Regions from separate parts of the Homo sapiens genome. Here region 1 is linked to region 2. Evidence: promoter capture Hi-C in 16 types of primary human blood cells and fetal thymus (Javierre and others, 2016). All regions are on one chromosome and are shown on one strand. The core of a region is centred on a gene start or on the middle of the fragment in contact, and the rest is flanking DNA. Distances in the headings are between cores, read along the strand shown. Region 1 has its middle 72 kb from the start of LINC01788. Region 2 holds the start of ZRANB2-AS1 (ZRANB2 antisense RNA 1).

What was found. Contacts are between HindIII fragments. The CHiCAGO score rates a contact against its expected background, and 5 or more counts as called.
Region 1: a contact is called between a fragment that was not itself captured here and the fragment with the promoter of ZRANB2-AS1 in region 2, in 1 of 17 cell types (erythroblasts). The highest score is 6.5, in erythroblasts.

What each region holds. Positions count from the first base shown.
Region 1 is chr1:70,631,349-70,638,063 of GRCh38, forward strand. No RefSeq gene overlaps it. Among named protein-coding and RNA genes, the nearest start is that of LINC01788, 72 kb to the right of the region's middle. The HindIII fragment of the contact is 1,790 bases long and covers 1,235-3,024 here.
Region 2 is chr1:71,041,221-71,047,797 of GRCh38, forward strand. ZRANB2-AS1 (ZRANB2 antisense RNA 1) reads left to right here and starts at 5,286. Exons shown (of 3, transcript NR_038420.1): 1 at 5,286-6,369. PTGER3 (prostaglandin E receptor 3) reads right to left here. Exons shown (of 4, transcript NM_198719.2): 1 at 5,461-6,577. The coding sequence starts at 6,357. RefSeq lists an enhancer at 6,010-6,577. The HindIII fragment of the contact is 6,286 bases long and covers 2,158-6,577 here.

The sequences.
Region 1 (6,715 bases), core at 880-3,379, 410 kb before region 2:
AGCTGTTTGCTTCAGGAAATATATATGCCTGGAATATAAAACTATAAAACTAGCTAAAATAATTTACTTACCAAGACAAATGGGCATCCCCTAGATTGACTTCAAAACCAGTCCACCATCATTATGTAATAAACTCATCCCATTTCCGTCTAGTTTCTCTCTTGCTAAACCTACCTTAAAGTCATCAAGCCCAGGTCTCAAAATCCTCCATCTTCTTCTGCCTTCACTACTAAGGCTTTGTTGAGCCCGTTTTATCTTTTACTGCAGGAAGTCTAGCAGGTTTAGCTTTGCTTGATCTACAGGTTTTTCCTGTTGACATTTAGGGCACTGATGATTGGCAACCCATGTCCACTTTTGATAATACTCAGCTGATGCATCATTTCCTTTGGTAAGCCTGAGGTGTCCTTTTAATTCCTTGCCCAGGTACAGTTAATGCTTCCCTCCTGTGCCCCTATACCTCCTTGTACATACTTCCCATATTCTATCAGAGTTTAATCCTGCTGTTATATTTTTTTGCCTTTCCTCTTAGGCTGGGAGTCTCAAAGGTTAGTGACTGTGACTTTCATCATTATATGTTGTTAGCACTGCCTTGTACAGAACGCAGGTGCCCAATTGATATTGAATTGTTGACTGCTGTATTGAATAAATGAATAAATGAACAGCCAGGTGCAGGTAGAGAGATGTACAATAAAGAGATCAGACAGATGGTAATTGCCATAGATTATCAATGAGGTAATGACAGCTGTAAGTAGAAATGAATAACTTCTCCCAAGGTGAATCAAATCAGGAGAGTCTGAGAACCACTGGGAAAATTCCAAGAACCAACTGAAGAAAAAAACTAGCCTTATATTTCCATCAGTGTTTTTCAATCTCGGCTGCACATTAAAATCAGCAAGGGTGTTAAAAAAATCCAACACCCTTTCCTGGCACCACCCTCATCCCAACATTCATTCTTTCTTTCTTTTAAAAAATGTTTATTTTATCATTAATATTATTTTTGTTTGACAAATCATAATTGTATACATTTCACCCCACCATTCTGATTTCATTTGCTCTGTTGTGGAATAGGGTATTGAAATATTTTAAATGTGCTCCTGAAACCTCTAAGGATCAGTCAAGGTTGAAAATCACTGGTTCAAGTGCTACTTCTTCTGTTGCTGTTTCTTTGACATCTGCAGTGATTCTCCAGGAGGTATCATTAGCAAGAGGACACATGAGATTCTCCTGCCACAGAAGCTTAGTGGAATTATCTATTGGAAATATGGTGTGATGGTGGGTCAGGTAGTTTAAAAATATATTAAGTATAATCAACTTTTTTTTAAATTTGGAAAACAAAAAATTATATTTTTAGTGTAACTCAAGTTACAAAAAGTAAATGCTGCTAGGAAAACCAAGCATTGCAATTTTCAATGGAGGCAAGCTCCTTTGGGGTTTCCTAGAACTGTTTTTCTTTTCTTTTTTTTTTTCTTATGGGAGGAGCTAGAAATTTAAATGTTTATCAAAAGCCGACATGTGTTTGTGATTGTAAAACACTGCTTTCACCCCTAGAACTAGAAAATTGTGTATATGCCCCTTCTCTCTGCTACCTTAGCGGCCTGTATGTACTTACTTTTATCATTGCACTTTTTACAACATATGGTGTGGAAAATTCTGCTTGGTTTTTCTCTTTCCTTGATTAATCTGTAGGCCCTTAAAGAGAAGATGGATTATAACCCTATCTCTTTATTCTCACATTTAGCAGCTAGGGGCACTCAACAGGGATTGACTGAAAGAACAAGGTCAAGTAAGGAATAAAACATCTATCACTGACTTGGCTAGGACACGAAGCAAATGAGGTCATAGATGTGAGTTCAGGCTGGAGCAGTACCAGATGGTTACTCTAAGATACTGTCCCATGACCCTGCAGCTGCCCCTTCATCCTAACCAGCTGCTAGTGTGTATTGGTGCATCAGGGAAAAATGCTGCCATTATTAACAGCCCAAAGGATTAATTGGGAAGTGGTGGTTACTAGTACCATTGTGTATCAAGGCCAACCCCATTTGTTCCAACCCCATTTGTTCTTCTCCTCTACAAATTAGAGATGACATTACTTTTCACAGGGTAGTTGTGAGGGTTGAATGAATGAGTGTGTAAGAAAAATATCTAAAGTAAAAATAGGAAAGGTTCCCATTATGGTCCCTTGAAAGAGAGCAAGTTCACCACAATATTGACATTTGGGCAGAAATACTTAAAAAACATTCAAGAATTGAAAGGGTTGTTGGATTTGATGGACTTTAAGGCTCCATCCCACCCTGAGATTCTATTTAATTTTTTGAAAAATTTTAAAAATAAATTTGTAACTTTATAAATGATGCATAGTAATGTACATATTTATGGGGTACAGTGTGATGTTTCAATGCATGTATACATTGTATAATAATGAAATAGGAATAATTAACATAGCCATCATTTTAAACACTTATCATTTCTTTGTGGTGACAACAATCAAAATCATCTTTTCTAGCTCTCTTGAAATATACACTACTACATGGTTATTTGCTATTACTTTACTCTTATTTCAAAGATAAAGATGCTAAAATACAGAAAGATAAAGAGATTTGCTAATTCTCTCATGATCATCCCTTACTCATCTTTTTGGGATTCAGCTAATACATCATTTATTCAAAGAGGATTTTTGAGACATCTATTTCCCTATTCCATGTTATCTCTCACAGCAGAGAGCTGTTATTGCAAGCTGTAACTCTGTATTTATTAATATGTTTATTTGTTCAATGTCTGTATCACACACTAGACTACAAAGTACATAAGAATAGAAATACAGAAATCAAGTCATTTTTCCCCAAAGAAGGATCTCAAACATTTGTTAAATGAATGAACATCAAAATAATTAACTAATTAATTTTAATGTATTTACTCATACCAATGTTTAAAAAGGATTAGAAGTGGATAAAGGGCAATGTATAATTAATTAACTCATTCATTTATTATGAAGATTATTTTTATTGAAACAATTAACCATTAGAAAGCTTTCGCATCTGCATCACTTCTTGGCCTTTTGGCTAAGATCAAGTGTAAAATTTTCACATGTGGCTAATTGTTTTATTCCACTACATCTATCATTATTTTGGCAACTTCGATATCAGTGAAAATGGTCAGTTCAACACTCTGGCCTCTGAGGTCCGTGACTTCCTTAGTTCTTTTGTTCTATCCCACTTGAGCTACCCGCAATGGACTTATTCCAGACCAGTGTTTTTCAGGCTCCAGATTGGGACCTATTAGTGGGTCTTAATAATTTAGCAACAACATTTTAAATAAGAATGGATCAGAATTAAACATATCAGGTATCAGAGTGCATTTAAGTGTAAGTATTGTTTTGTGAACGCTTGTGTATGTACATTTAATGTCTATGTAAAATTCCTTTCTGAGGATTGTGATCTAAAAGTTTGTTAAATATGACTTAATAACTTAATCACCTCTGAAATCTCAATTTTAATTTACTCATTTCTTCACTGCCCCTTCCCCTTGGAGCTCCCTTACTCCAATAGGTCCATTTGAACACTTTATTACTCCATGAAGAACTCACTGATCTCAACACTTTTTAGTTTTCAGTTGTTCCTCCTTCCTACTTTTCTGCTCTCCAAAGTCTGTCACAATCATTATAATTGACTGTAGCTGTTTGTTGCTCTTTCCTTCCATTTCACTTGACTGACAAAACAAATTCTCTGCTCACTGCAGACTGTTTCTAATCAGCCTGGAAAATGGCTGCAGTTACGGAGGCATACATTTGCCAATTGATCTCACTTTGAGTCTATGACAACAAATCTCAAGTGGGGCCTCAGAACTATCCAGCCATCTCCTCAGAGTTCCCTAACAAGTTTGCTTTCCATCTCTGAAGTGCTTTCACACCTTACTTCTCCATTAACTCCCCAATATCAGTTATGCATTTTCTACTCCCCTGTGGTGAACTCATGAATTTCTTGAGGAAATAACCACCATAATACAACTAGTTTATCTCTCCACTACTGAATTTTCACTGTAACCTCCTTCCTATACATATGCTCCTCTTTTTCTCTCACGACACTGAACCTCTTCTACCATAACCTAAAGCCAAACCTTCCACTTGCCACCTGATGTGTCCCCCATACATTTCCCACACTGGCTCTTCATATCCCTTTTTCTCAATCGCAAACAGATTGTAACACTCTAGCTGGGCCAATACTGTTTATTTGTTTGTTTGTTGTCTGTTTTAGTTTATTTTGCTTTCTGTCTTGCTGAGTATGATAGCAAGGGGATTGAGTAAGCTGGAGAAGAATGGGTGGTGCTCTATGTACATCACAATATGTTGCTGTGGGCAGCTGGGGTAACCCAGTGTCACTCTGTGCCCATGGAGTCTCCATAAAGGGAAAAACAGATAGGAAAGAAGAGAGGGAGGATATGAATACACCTTTGCTTCTCAAATGTTCTGAAAGCTGGCCCTTCATCTATATTATAATTAGATAACATGCTTTCCTGCTGAAATTATCAAGCATTTGTGGGAAAGTATAACACTATTCTTCTCCTTGTCCCTACAGGCACCATTGTCTCTTTAAAATAAGATCTGTACTTCTCCTCCTTTCCACAGTTATTATCCTGATGTAGGAGGCAGAAGGAGTTTAAAGGTCTTTTCTCATTGGGACCTTGAAGTACTCATTTGTAGAATTTATGGGAAAGGAGATTCTCTGTTTTCAGTCTGTTCTGATGCATGTATTTCCATTTCCTGACCTTTCAAAAGTGACCTTTCAGAAGCAATAATTGTCGGGAATGGGAAGTATTATGGATAAAAACTTTTTACCATATTCTGCCTCAAAATTAACCTCGCAGTCATCCCTCAAAAGACTCTTCTTATGACAGGTTTAGCCATCGAGGGGAATTATGGCTGCCAGAATTCCTTGTAAAGCATTACTTAGAAGGGTCTGTGTTCTATCTCATCTCCTCTAGTATGTGTTAATGATATTTTAGGTTCACATTTTAAAATCTTTTAAAGTGTCTTCTCATCTATGATTGCCTTTCATTCTGAAAATGACTTTATGAGTCATATCAGGAGGATAATAGATTGAAAGAGGTTAAGTTATTGGAATTACTTGGCATACTTGCGGGCAGCTTTCTAATTAGAGCAGAACCTGGTGGTAGAACACAAATCTTTTAACTTCTATTTCTGAGTACTCTTTATTATGTAGTTACATTAATGTATTATGCAAGGATCCATCAATGTGCATCTTCTGTCTTTTTAAAGGACTCCTCAGTTTTATCCTACAGATTTGATTCACCTGGGGGTGAGGAGCCAAGGGATACATGTTTTAAAAATCTCTCAGATAATTTTGATTTAGAGCAAGTTTGGTAACTATTGCTGCAATAGTCAATGGCCCCTTTTCCTGAGGGAAGCACAATTTACAGACTGTTCTAAGTGTTCATACATTCTTCTTACTCTCTTAACTCTGAATTTTTTTCTGCCCTTCATTGAAAAGTCACCATGATGTTCTTCTTTATAGCTAATATTTAATAGAAGCCACAGGACTTCAACTGCTGACTCAAGCACTATCAGCACATAAAGGTTTACTGTATTAGTGTGTTTTAATAGTTGATCGATATAGAACAGTATTATGGGGAAAAACACAGGAAAACATATAATGACATAATTGGGTTATTAAACATGAGAAATTATTTTCCTGAGACTCAGCAAATTTACTTTATTGATATTATGTTTTCTATATTGAATATTTGGAAAATGGAAGTCTTTAACCTGTCTTATTTATATATCTTGGAGTTGGCCAAATGTTTGGTGGAGTAGAATCAGAAAAAAGAGACCTTATGTGCCAGCTCAAATGCCTGTTTCTCTGAGCAACTATCCTTCTTTCTTCTGATACCTTAGCTGCTCTTTCCTCTGTGTTCAGAATACTTTCTTCTTGCTTCATTATAGAACTTACCATTTGTCCTGTAAACTGTTCACATTTTTAACACCTCCACAGGACTGCAAACACCTCAAAGGCAGAAAATCTGAGGTATTCATTTTTGTATTCTCTGTACATCCTAGTTCAGCTCATTCAGACATTCATTAAATAAATATTTCATAACTCTTTTGGTAGGCATTTTTACTGACTCACTAACATCTACTTCACTGCAGATGATCAATATAAGTTGGTCATAGTAATTCCATCCTTCCTTGACAGATTGATTCACAAACTGGCCTGTCTTAGCCAATATAAGGTAACATGAGGAAGAGGCTTCTTTAAGGTTTCTGGAAAGAACCAGAGTGGATATGAACAAGGAATCATGTTGACTCAGTTTTTGTGGGCAAACATCTATGGCCCTAAGAAGAACAGCCTTAAGACAAAAGAGTATGTGGTTAGACAGATGCTGTTGACTGGTCGAGTGAGGAAGAGGGTCCAGGAGTATTTCCTAATGAGAGGCTACAATATATGAAGACTAGGAAGTAATGAAGACATTGCAGGGGGTTAAGGAGCTAAAACAGGTTCAGTAGGGCTACAGTGAAGGGAGGAAAGCTGAGTGGCAGACCTGGTCCAAAACAGTGCAGAAGACAGGGGATCTTATAAGGCATGTTAAGATGTGTCTGATGTACCTTTAAAAAGAAAACATTTGTTGAATCATCTTGTCTGATTCTCTCACTCTAATTTTGTGAAAAGAACTAAGCACTCAAGAGATTAGGTAACCTACTATG
Region 2 (6,577 bases), core at 4,036-6,535:
AGCCTTGCCTATCTTAAACATGCTCAGAACACTTACATTAGCCTACAGGTGGGCAAAATCATCTGGCAACACAGTCCACTGTGGAGTATTGGTTGCTTACCTTGTGTTTGCGTGGCTGACTGGGAGCTGTGCATGCATCACCAAAGAGTATCATACTGCATATCACTAGCCCAATAGAAGATCGCCATTCCAAATTCCAAGTACAGTTTCTACTGAATGTGCATTCCTTTCACACCATCATGAAGTTGAAAAAGCATAGGTCAGAGACTGTCTTTACTATGTTTACAGTAAAATGTTGCCATATACTTAGGGGACAAGATATAAGAGGAACCCCCCCAAAATGAGGCTCCTTCATTGGTTACCATCTTTATGAAAGTTGGAAGTTTCTAGGGAAAAGGAGGACTAGAGAGATTGTCTAATGATTCTCAAGAAGCACAGCTGGCAGGAGTTGAAATACAAACTTCCTTCCTGTCTTTTTGTAAAGCAATTGGAAAAAATGGGAGAGTAAGAATTTGACATGTTACAGTTGTAGATCTTAGTGTTGTGAGGCATGAATGAGATAAATGTGGAACACTGGCAGGTTGCAAAAATGTTACGCAGATGTACAGCGTTTTAGGGGGGACTTCCCTGCATTTCTGTCCTGCAATGCAAGGGCAGAACCAAAAACTGAAACTTAGCACCCAGTATCCCTCACCTACCACCCCTCTGCACCCTCAGATGAATCATAGTCTGTTACAGATGCCTGTGGTGCATATTCCTGAGTGTTAGTCCCAGAAAACTAAACCTATGGAAACTTTTATAATTTAGTTGTTGACCTTCACAGCTTGTTCAAAAGAGAAGGGCCAGTGACTCACAATTATATTACAACTTCAGACCATGTGAATTTCTTCAAAGATGATGGCTTAAGAAGTGTTTAATTCTTGGCTCTTTCTGATAAACTCAAAAGAGTGAAGTCCTCATCTTGTCATTCAGGGACTAACCATCTAAATTTGTTTTCTTGAACATTTTTAAAACATCATTCCCATTGATCTAGTGTGCACCCTTTGTTCTCATTGGGCTGGGTTTTGGGACACACTTGCTCTCAGTCATGAAGTCATGAAATGAGGTTATGCCAATTCATCTTCCTGGAAATCTCCTCTGGCAAATTCAGACTGACTTTTTTCTGAGAGCCAAAGGCATTAATTACATCCTATCTTGTATTATAATTCTTTAAATATTTCACTCATAAATGTGGAAATTCTGCTTTTCTGAACAGATTATAACATTAATCAGTTTTATAATCATAGAATATTTTGTTGACCTTCACACCTTTTTCAAAAGAGAAAAATTATAGAATATTTTTCCTACAATGTGGATTCATATGTTTAATCACTTTCTCTGAAGCAACATCCTGAATATGGCAGAAAGTTGAGGCAGAAGAGATTAGCAATTGAATAATACTTTTATATGCTATAAAACAACATTATTTCTGAAAATAATTCATCATACATATCTACCACATGTGGCATATTAAAGGCAAATTTCGCTTGTCAAAATACATCAGTGACTCCTTAACTAAAATGAAAAAAAATCACAACTACATTGTGAAATATCTTCTTGAACTGAAACATCTCTGTATTTGTGGATACTGAGCAGGGAATTCAGTGGTTCAAGATTAAAGGCAAAAGTTTCTAAGGCTGCTTTTATCCAGTTCCAAGATTGATGATGAGAAACTGTTTGTTGCTCATACCTCACTTTTCATGATGTTCATAGCTGGCTTTGTATTTACTGTTTTTGAGATAGCTTACAGTATTAGCCACATTCTACCTGTTTGGGAGTGCCAAGTTATAAAAGTACAAAATGTACTCATAGCTTCCTTTGAACAAAATCCTAAGGTTATTCCCATTTCTGGAAATTTAGCTATCAGGTCAAACAACTGAGCTATGGTGAGCATCATTCATAAAATATAAAACATAAAATAATGATAAAAATCAAATAGATTGCATTGCTGGATGAACTGGCTGATTGCAACAGAATGACAATGTGATGCCTTACATAAGCAGTAACTAAAAACTGTAGGTCATCTATCATGGTGACATAATTTCCCACTGTACTCTCTTAATTTCACATTTTATATTGTATTTTGCAAAATTTCTGAGAAAAAGAAAAAGGAAACAAAGCTTTTGTTTAAGGATACATAAACCTCTATTTAAGTATTTATGTAGTGTGAACTTGTAGCTGTTGGGACATTTTCTTATTATGGTGTTTCTGTACTACCAAGTTTTCCTGCAGTAACAACTGAATATTTATTATAGTCATGATAGTCTTCCAGGATATACTCAGGGTCCTTTCAAGTAAGAAGTTTGGACAATTAGAATAGTATCCTACACCCAACTTAACGAATGCTAGCAGGAAACCTATATTACACTCATAGTTAGAAAAAACAGCGTTAATCTCTCATTTTAACACTAATATGCTGAAAATTCAATTCACTAAATTCTAGTGTTTTTATTCTTATAATTCTCTATTAAGAAAGCAGCTTTGCCAGTTTCTTTTCTTTGTAGTAATTCCAACTTTGTACAGTAAATCTTTTTGAAGATATTTGGAGTTTTTTTTTTGTTTTTTGTTTTTTTTTTAGAGGGAGTCCTGCTCTGTCACCCGTGCTGGAGTGCAGTGGCGTGATCTCGGCTCACAGCAACCTCTGTCTCCCTAGCCTAAGTAATTCTCCTGCATCAGCCTCCCGAGTAACTGAGATTACAGGCGCATGCCACCATGCCCCGCTAATTTTTGTATTTTTAGTAGAGGCGGGGTTTGGCCATGTTGGAATGCTGGTCTCGAACTGCTGACCTCAAATGATCCACTCACCTCGGCCTCCCAAAGTGCTGGGATTACAGGCGTGAGCCACTGCGCCCAGCCGATGGAACCATTTTCTTTAAAAAGTTCTCATTTCTCCTAGGCCGGGCACGGTGGCTCATGCCTGTAATCCCAGCACTTTGGGTGGCCGAGGTGGGCGGATCACCTCAGGTCAGGAGTTCGAGACCAGCCTGGCCAACATGGTGAAACCCCATCTCTACTAAAAATACAAAAATTAGCCAGGTGTGGTGGCGGGCGCCTGTAATCCTAGTGACTCCAAAGGCTGAGGCAGTAGAATCACTTGCACCTGGGAGGTGGAGGCTGCAGAGAGCTGAGATCTCACCACTGCACTCCAGCCTGGAGTTTTTTTTTTTGAGACAGAGTCTCAAAAAAAAAAAAAATTCTCCTTTTTGATATGATCACATGTTTAATTTATTTTGTTTAATGTTTTTATAATTGAATTAATAAAGTACCCAGTAAAATGCTATAAATCAATAAGTATTATCCAAATGAAAATAAATTGAAATTAAGTAAGACTAGTTTCAAATGCAGTCTTTCTTGAAAGAGTGAGTTTGGCCATCCTAAATTACAGTTTTCAAGATTGATCTACTTTCTTTCTGAGGCCACCATACTTTTGGTACTAGAATTAAAGTGTCTAAATCAAAAACACACTACATGGCTTCGCTTTGACTTAAAAACAAAATGCACAAACAATAAATTATAAGTCTGATTAACTGTATGGGTATTTTGTTCAATTGATTTAACTGCATTTTTTTTCCCTAGGATATAAATCATGTGATACAGCAAACTCAAAGATGTGGGACTCAAATGACACTTGTGAAAAACTGATACCCTGTTTGCCTTTAAAGTTATATTAATTACCACACTTTAGTAAAGTGTTTACTATTTAGAACTCTTTCTTCCTTCCTAGTTGGCCACCTGTACACTCCATTCCTCAGCCATAAAAGTAAATACTGTATATCTAAAACTGGTGCTGGTTTTGATAAGCCATAGTGATGACATCAGCCTGAGTTCCAACTCCTGGAATAAAGAACTGTGACCATACAGCGACTTGTGGGCAGTTAGGTCTCAGCATAACACTCCTTGTCCCCTCATGTCACTGATTTGGAGCCAAGGTTTGTGCTCCAATCTACCAAACCAGGTTAAAGAAATTACATTTCTATTTTCAAATGCAAGGGATTTAAAAGTATACATGGCGCACAAAAAACTCAACGTACTTAATGCCTAATGCCACTGAACTGTACACATAATAATGGTTAAAATACTGAATTGTATGTAATATATTTTACCATAATTAGGAAAGAAAAAAAACTGCGTTCACGTGTTTCAAAGGTTTTCCACAACTGTATAATACATATAGTTGGTTATACCTTTGTAACAGTGACCATATCGCTCTTTCTGCAACATCTATTAACCCAGACACCCCAGGGCCTAAGTAAGCATCCATTCTTCAGGAATTAGTAAACAGCACTTACACACGGACATTTCTAGCTAAAAGTAACACAGACAAAAAAACCTCAAAAATATCACGTAAGGGCAGGTGTTAGGCAAAGAGCCTCTGCAAACATCCCTTGCTCCTCTGCATTGCTCTGGTGTGAGGAGCTAGGACATGGAGAAACCTCTACCTCCTATCTCAGGATTAGCGAACCCTGCTTGAGTGCTACAAGGGTAAGTAAATGCTGGCCTGAAGAAGCTGCTGAGCTTCCGGATCCCACTGACTGTCGTTCGGGCACTTCCTAGAGGGTCAAGCACCATGGCGAAAGGCTGAGGAGGCAACTCGTATCTTTCATTCTCCTGCCTCATCAAGAATGAACCTTGAAGGCACCCATAGGTCGCGCAGTCTTTCAGAAGCTGCAGGAGGGCTGTGACTGTATGGGGTTGCAGACTGAAAATCTTATTAACGTGAAAGAGGAATTTGAAATTAAAAAAAAAAAACCCGGCCGGGCGCGGTGGCTCACGCTTGTAATCCCAGCACTTTGGGAGGCCGAGGCGGGTGGATCACGAGGTCAGGAGATCGAGACCACGGTGAAACCCCGTCTCTACTAAAAATAAAAAAAAAAAATTAGCCGGGCGTGGTGGCGGGCGCCTGTAGTCCCAGCTACTCGGAGAGGCTGAGGCAGGAGAATGGCGTGAACCCGGGAGGCGGAGCTTGCAGTGAGCCGAGGCTGCGCCACTGTACTCCAGCCTGGGTGACAGAGCGAGACTCCGTCTCAAAAAAAAAAAAAAAAAAAAACCCCACAATATCAGGCTACAGTTATCATAGCAATTCTGCTTTTAATGCACTCAGGACAAACTTCTAGCTCTGCATATATGTCATTTCAATGACACATCCTGTCTCCTACCCGACTAGAATGTGAGCAGCCCTGTGATCTCTATGTGCTCATAAACAGTGCCTAATGCGAATCCTGGCTCTTGGAAGGCGCTCAGCTAGTAAGTGAGGAGCTCAGCTCTGAAGCTGTAACCAAGACCGCGCGGGCAGGAGGAAAGGACACTTCAGCGCTCTGCGGTTGCAAACACACCCCTGCGGGTGCTGCCACTTAGCAAAGTCTTAGGTTCCCGCTTACTCGCACACGCATCCTGACTTCCCCCAACCCTGGAACTACCTACCAGGAGCGGAGACCAGCAGACCGACAGCACGCACATGATCCCCATAAGCTGAATGGCCGTCTCGGTCGTGATGCGGCCCCACTGGGCACTGGACTGAGATGCCGTGGCCTTGGCCCGGCAGCGGGACACCAGGGCCTTAATGGTGGCCAGGTTGCAGGAAAAGGTGACTGTCAGCGCCAAGAGCCCCAGGAAGGCAAAGGCAGAGGCGAAGAAAAGGTTGCCCCAGTTATGCGAAGAGCTAGTCCCGTTGCCCCCTCGCCCGGTGCTGATGAAGCACCACGTCCCGGGCCACTGGACGGTGTACTGGCCCACGCCCAGCACCGGCAGCAGGGCGAAGGCGAGCACGGCCAGCCACACGCCGAGCAGCACAGCGCGGGTGGCACGCGTCTTCATGTGGCTCGCATACCAGTGCGGCGCCCTGATGGCCAGCGCCCGCTCGACGGCCATGGCGCTGGCGATGAACAACGAGGAGAGCCCGAAAACAGTCATGGTCAGCCCGAAAAAGGTGCAGAGCCGCCCCGACGGGTCGATGTGCTCCCAACGCTGCTTGGACAGGTACACGACGATGACGACCGGGGTGGTGAGAAGCTGCCCGACCAGGTCGGTGAGCGCCAGCCAGCCGATGCACAGCAGGAAGGACTTCTTGCGCTTGCTCTCCCGGCGCCGGTAGCTGCGCGACACGAGCAGCATGGCCAGTGCGTTGCCCACGAAACCAGTGAGCAGCATGGTGATCGGGAAGGCCACGGACACCGATCCGCAATCCTCGCCAGACCCTGGAGGGCGCGTGAGGTTGCCCCGCGCCTCGGCGGAACGCTCGGGCGCCCACATGCCTGTGTAGGAGTGGTTGAGGCGGGTGCAGAAGGGGGCATCCCCTCCGTAGCCCCGGGTCTCCTTCATGTTGGCTTCGAGGTGAGGAGGGGATGGCGTCCAGAGAGCCGCAGCGGGAGGGGGCAGACGCGGCGCGGGCGGCGGCGGAGGTCGGCGTTTACCGCGGCTGGGGCTGGGCTGCCCCCCATGGTGCGGGGCGCAGCCGCCGCCCTACTCCGCTGCTGGGACCGCGGCCGCGGCGGCGCCAGGGCTCACTGGCCCGGGAGGGAGCCACGCCTTCCTCTCTGGG